Linked DNA regions of Homo sapiens: region 2 is linked to region 1. Evidence: promoter capture Hi-C in 16 types of primary human blood cells and fetal thymus (Javierre and others, 2016). All regions are on one chromosome and are shown on one strand. Each heading gives the region's core, a stretch centred on a gene start or on the middle of the fragment in contact. The rest is flanking DNA. Distances are from core to core; before and after follow the strand shown.

Region 1 (3,096 bases), core at 215-2,714:
AGCCTTCTCTTCCCCTCCTCCCACAAGGGGTTCGGGGCACCTAAACACCCTCCCGGGTCACTAAGATGCCTCCTCCTGCACACCCTGCGGGCGGAGGCAGCGGTCCGGGGGCGCGCTGAGTGCACGCTTGCAGCCGGCCAGGGAGACTAATCAAAGTGCGCAGGCAGGCTCCCGCTGCTCCTGGCACCTAGGACTCGCTCCCAGGAGGACGGACGAGGTAGCCTGGATGCTTCGGAGGGGCGCTCTGGGGCAAGGAAGGACGTGCTTCTGGAAGCGACGCACAAGGGGGCTCAGGGTCTCGGCCTCCTGGGGGTAGGGGGGGACACGCCTCGAGATCTTTCCACACACCCTGAAAAAGTTCCCGTCCAGAGCGCCCAGACTGGCGCTAGGAGGAGGCCAGTTCTCGGGGACCTAGCGCTTCCCTCCATGAGACCTTCTGGACCTGACCCACCAGGTCAGGGTGGGTGCAGAGGCAATGACTCCGCCTGGACTTACCTAGAACTCCCGGCGAGCCCGGCTGCGGTCACGTTCTCGGCCCCAGACCCCCGAATTCCCGTGCGCTCTCTGCACCCCCAGCCACACTCACCATAAGCTGGAGGCGGCGGAAGGGGGTGCTGGTTTCTCACGCACTGTCCGCAACTTCGCGGGCAGGTCAGCCCCGCCCTGGCGCGCCTGCCTGGGCGCGGCGAGGGTCCGGACAGGCGGGGACCCTGGCGGCCACTGGGTGGGGGTCTGGAGCGCAAGGACTCTCAATCCCGGGCGCGCGGTCCGCTCCTGCTCTCTCTGCCTGGGCAAGAAGCTCGGAGTTCTCCTGCTCCGGACGCCGGGGCGGGGCCCACGGCTGGCTGTCCCCTCCAGATGTGGGGTGCTCGGCTCGGCTCACTCCTTCCTTCTTCAGCCCCGGAGGCGCGCGCGTGGGTCCAGCCAGTGCCGCCGCCTCTGCTGTTCCCGGGGCTGGCAGAGCGCCCCCGCCCCACCGCGGGTGCTGCTGGGGGGCTGGGGCGGAGGGGGAGGGATTCCCCTCCGCGAGTTCGGGTTTCCCCACCCGACGCGGCCCCTGGGCTCCGTCCGCCGTCCGCCACCCTCCGCGCTGCTTGGAGAACCACTTCAGGGCAGCGCAGCCAGTCCCACCGACTCTGGCTGGAGGAGGCGGCGGCAGCGCGGCTCGCACGGGGACTGGAAAGGAGGTGACCTTCAAACCCCGCGCTCGGGAGACCAGGAAGGGGGCTGGGGTGATCGAGGGAGCGGTGTGTGCACCCAGACGGCCAGCAAGAGCGCTTGTAGGAGGGCGGGAGAGAATAAAGAGGAAATCTTCCAGTAAAAATATAGATTAGAAAATAAACAAAGGAGAGCCGGAGAGAGCGCGAGAAAATGTGTGCATGTGTGTGTGTGCGTGTGTGTCTGTGTGTGTGTGAGCGCGCGACAAGCAGCGAGCAGCCCCGGCTGCGGAGCCAAAAATAATCTGGTGCGCGAGGGAGCGCCCCCTCCCCCTTCCCCTCGCCAGCGCCGCCGCCGCCGCGGTCACGCGTGCAGCCCTGGATTCCAGCGGGCGGCGGCGGCGGACACGCGACCCGGTACCCTGGTCTCCTGGCCTAAAGGGGACAGAGGGTGAAAGTTGGATGCTGGGGCAATGAGCCCAGGACTTTCACCTGCGCCCGTCCTCGTCCTGGTAGTCCCCAGGTGGGCTCACTCATTGAGCACCAGCGCCCTCCTCCCAACCCCAATCAAAGTAGACAAATCCCCCACTAGAGACGCCAAGTGGAGGCAGCTTCTTGCCCCAGTCCATTTCTTCTCTGAGGAAGTTTTCTGGCAAGTCTTCAAATCTTCCGGCCAGGCAGAGATCGAGCCCTATCCAAGATTCAAAAAGTTCTCCAGGCTGGATGGGATGCAGGGCTGGGGTGGGTGCGGCTGGCCTGGGACGCCCCCACCCCGCACAGCTGGGCCTCTCCTGTCCTGCCCCCTTCCTGGCCACCTACTCCCGCAATGGACGCTGAAGGGGTCTAGGGATTGTCCTCCTAGCAGATGTCTTACAGCCAGAAGCCCCATGACGCCTTAATACACACTAGCACTTAATAAGCATTTACTTTCCACCAGATGCTGTTTTAAGCACTTTACATGGAGTCTTTTCAACAACTGGAAGTAGATACTGGAGGTTTATCCATTTCACAGATGCTTAGAGAGATTAAAGCAATATTTCTCCCTTCCTGGGTCCCACTCTGGACTGGAGTGAGAAACTCTGCTCTTCCCCTACCTTTTCCTTTCCCTCCCTCCCTTCCTTCCTCCCTCCCTTTCTTCCTTCCTCCTTTCCTCCCTTCCTTCCTTTCTCCCTTCCTCTTTTTTCCACAAATATTCCAGGGGGTTTTGTTGTACAATAAAGTCAGTCTGAGGTTCAGTGAGTTGTAATTTGTTCAAGGTCACATAGCTGGCAAGGAACCAGGACTCCCCAGGCAGTCTACCTCATTTTATGTGGCACCACCCTGCCTTCTGAAGGGCAGGTGGCATTGGACAAGGCCAGATTCCAGCCTTGAGCACTTGATCTGAGGCGCCTGTTCATTTTCCCATCCTGTGATGTGACTGTGTTTGCACTTATACCATGGATCCTCTTATAAGAAATGCTGTAAGCTTTCCAAAACAGGGGGCCATGTGATGTGCATTCCTTTGTACTAGATGTACGTGTATTTCCTAGCGCCCATCAAGGAGCAGATTCCTTAAGGGTTCCTCTTGCAATCCTATCGGGCTGCGGTTTCTTTCAACCTCAGAATAAAAGAAAGGGAACTTCTGCCTATAACTATATTACTTTTTAAAGCACGCAATATTTAATCATCATTTGAAAAAGTAAGTTTGCAAAATCCAGAAAGATATCTTTATCATTGGTCCCAGCGATTTTGCAATTTGGGTTGATTTTTACCATATGTTTCCTTAGGATTCTCTTTGATAATAATATATTTGTATGTAAGCAATTTTTTTTTCTTTATACTAGTCTCATCCTTCAGTGATAGCAAAATGAAACCATAAATCTGGGTTGGTAACATCATAATCATTTCCCCCAGAAACTGTTCACAATGGGAAAACCGCCGAATTTAAATGTAATTGTCT
Region 2 (3,096 bases), core at 352-2,851, 590 kb before region 1:
GAGACTGCACTACTGCACTCCAGCCTGGACAACAGAGTGAGACCCTGTCTCAAAAAATAAAAATAAAAAAGAGAAAAAAGAAAATCATTTTCCACGTCAACCTCTCCATCTACAGAACATACTACACTCCATACCCAGCCACTGTGCTAAGAACTTTACTACATCTTCCCAGTAATCCCAACAACCATCTATAAAGTGGCTGTGGAAGGCAGAATTGTGGCCCCTAAAGATGTCCATGTCTGTCCTGGAGCCTGCGAATGTATCATATGACATGGTAAAAGGGAATCAAGGTTGCTGATTAGCAGACCTTAAATAGGGAAATTATTCAGGATCATCAAGATGGGCTCCAGGTAATCACAAGGGTCTTCAAATATGGGAGAGGGAGACAGAAGGGTCAGGTCAGAGTGACCTGATGGAAGAAAGGCTTGCCTGGCCATGGCTGGCTTTGAACTTGGAAAAGGCTGTGACCCAAGGGAGCAGAGTGGATTCTAAAAGTTGGGAAGGGCAAGAAAAAAGATCTCCTCTACAGGCTCAAGAAAAAAACAGCCCTGCTGGCACCATGATTTTAGTCCAGTGAGACACACTGCAGACTTCTGATCTCTACAACTATGAGATGACCAACTTCTGTTTTTGTTTGTTTTTGAGACAAGCTCTTGCTCTGATGCACAGGTTAGAATGCAGTGGTACAATCATGGCTCACTGTAGCGTCAAACTCCTGGACCCAAGTCATCCTTCTACCTCACCCTCCTGAGACCACAGGCATGTGCCGCCATGACTAGTTAATTTTTGTAGAGATGGGGTCTTGCCATGTTGCCCAAGCTCATCTCAAACTCCTGGTCTCAAGCGATTCTCCCACCTCAGCCTTCCAAAATATTAGAATTACACATGTGAGCCACCATACCTGGGCAATTTCTGTTGTTTTAAGTCACTAAGCTTGTGACAATTTGGGAAATAGTAACAGGAAACGAATAAGGGTGAAAACTGTTATCCCCATTTTGCAGATGGTAAAACTAATGTGTATAAACATATAAACAAAACCCACAAAGAGGTGAACAATAATACTGGGATTTAAGCCAGTCTTTCTGGCTCAAAAGATAGGCTTTTCCCCACAGGATACTATATGGCTTTACTTTGAAATATTTCACTTAATTCAGGTATCTATTAATGATTATAACACAAACCAATGCTGCCTTAGAAATAATTTGAGAAAAAATGATGATACCAAGGATACAGACTCAAAATAGGTCTGGTAAGAGTTAAGAAAGTGAGGAGTAATCAATGAAATAGTATTTCTTGAGAACCCGTTGTTTCAGGTGCTATGAGACATTGTCTCATTAATTTCTCTCAAAATTCTGTACAATGAAGGACTTTTTTGATGTAGAAGATAAAATATTACAGAGGATGTATCACCTACCAAAGCCTTCCCAGTAAAGGGTCAGAGTTAAGGTTTTAGGTCAAGCTCATAGCTGTTTCCAAGTTTGTATATATTCTATTTCAGTATGTTGCCAACTCCAGAAACAAGGAGGTTTGTGGACAAAGAGAATTTTAAAGGCTAAATGAGGATGTAAGTCATGTTAAGTTTGTTCTCCCATTCTATGATCGCTCATTAGGATGTGAAACATTATTCGGGAGCTATGTTGTAGACACTGAATTTTGGAACCATATACAGCAGGGGGAAACCACAAAATTCTAAAATAATTATTTCTTATTTGCACACTCACATGCCCACATAGGCAGACATAATACAGAGAGGGAAGAAGACAGAAAGAGAGAGGAGAGATAGAGGAGGAAGAAGAGAGAGAAAGAGAGAGGAGAGAGAGAGAGGAGGGAGACAGGACGGAGAGAGAGGAGGAAGAGGGAAAGAGGAGGAAGAAAGAGGGAGAGGAGATAGATAGGAGAGAGAAGAGAGGGGAGAGAGAGGAAGAAAGAGTAAGGAGAGACAGAGGAGGAAGAGAGAGAGGAAGAGAGATAGAGAGCGAGAGAGAGAGAGAGAGAGGAGAGAGACTGAAAGACCTAACTGCTTATGATAACTGGAAATTGGTCATATGGTTATAACATTTATATTAAATGAATTATTATATCCTAATGCTTGATTTTTAAGGGATGTGAATATGAGAGCTGACATTTCTCTTCCCTTTTAATCCTAATAACCACAATGAATTGTTCCAAGATGGTTCAAAGCACATTCTGATATCTTTCTGTCATTGTCCCCAATCAGTAGTCAGATGAACACTCATCTGTTCACCCACAAATTCTCTAGGAAGCTTGCTAAAATGCAGAGTGCTGACTTCCACTCTCAGGGACTATTAGTCAGTAGGTTTGGAAGGCAGCAGCCTCAGGTATATTAAAAAATGTATAGCCATTTTTGGCGATTATTAAAAAGTCAAGAAACAACAGATGCTGACAAGGCTCTGGAGAAATAGGAATGCTTTTACACTGTTAGTGGGAATGTAAATTTGTTCAACCATTGTGAAAGACAGTGTGGTGATTCCTCAAAGATTCAGAACAAGAAACACCATTTGACCCAGCAATCCTATTACTGGGTATATACCCAAAGGAATACAAATCATTCTATTATAAAGATACATGCACGCGTATGTTCACTGCAGCACTATTCACTGTAGCAAAGACGTGGAGTCAACCAAAATGCCCATCAATGATAGACCAGATAAAGAAAACGTGGTACATATGCAACATGGAATGCTATACGGCCATAAAAAGGAATGAGATGTTTTTTGCAGGGACATGGATGGAACTGGAAGCCATTATCCTTAGCAAACTAACACAGAAAACCAAACACCACATGTTCTCACTTCCAGGTGGGAGCTGAACAATGAGAACACATGGACACAGGGAGGGGAACTACACACAATGGGGCCTCGTAGAGGGGAAGGAGGAGGGAAAGCATCAGGATAAACAGCTAATGCGTATGGGGCTTAATAACTAGGTGATGGGTTGATAGGTGCAGCAAATCACTATGGCACACGTTTACCTGTGTAACAAATCTGCACGTCCTGGACATGTACCCCAGAACATAAAATTTTAAAACACGTACAGTCATTTTTGAGACATGCAACCCCAAATTCATCAAGATAA

What was found. Contacts are between HindIII fragments. The CHiCAGO score rates a contact against its expected background, and 5 or more counts as called.
Region 2: a fragment that was not itself captured here is called in contact with the fragment with the promoter of RBFOX1 in region 1 in 1 of 17 cell types (erythroblasts); the score reaches 5.0 in erythroblasts.

What each region holds. Positions count from the first base shown.
Region 1 is chr16:6,017,392-6,020,487 of GRCh38, reverse strand. It overlaps RBFOX1 (RNA binding fox-1 homolog 1), which reads right to left and starts at 1,464. Exons shown (of 16, transcript NM_018723.4): 1 at 496-1,464. The HindIII fragment of the contact is 5,499 bases long and covers 1-2,624 here.
Region 2 is chr16:6,606,318-6,609,413 of GRCh38, reverse strand. The region is part of intron 2 of RBFOX1 (RNA binding fox-1 homolog 1); the gene reads right to left. Among named protein-coding and RNA genes, the nearest start is that of RBFOX1, 590 kb to the right of the region's middle. The HindIII fragment of the contact is 1,331 bases long and covers 936-2,266 here.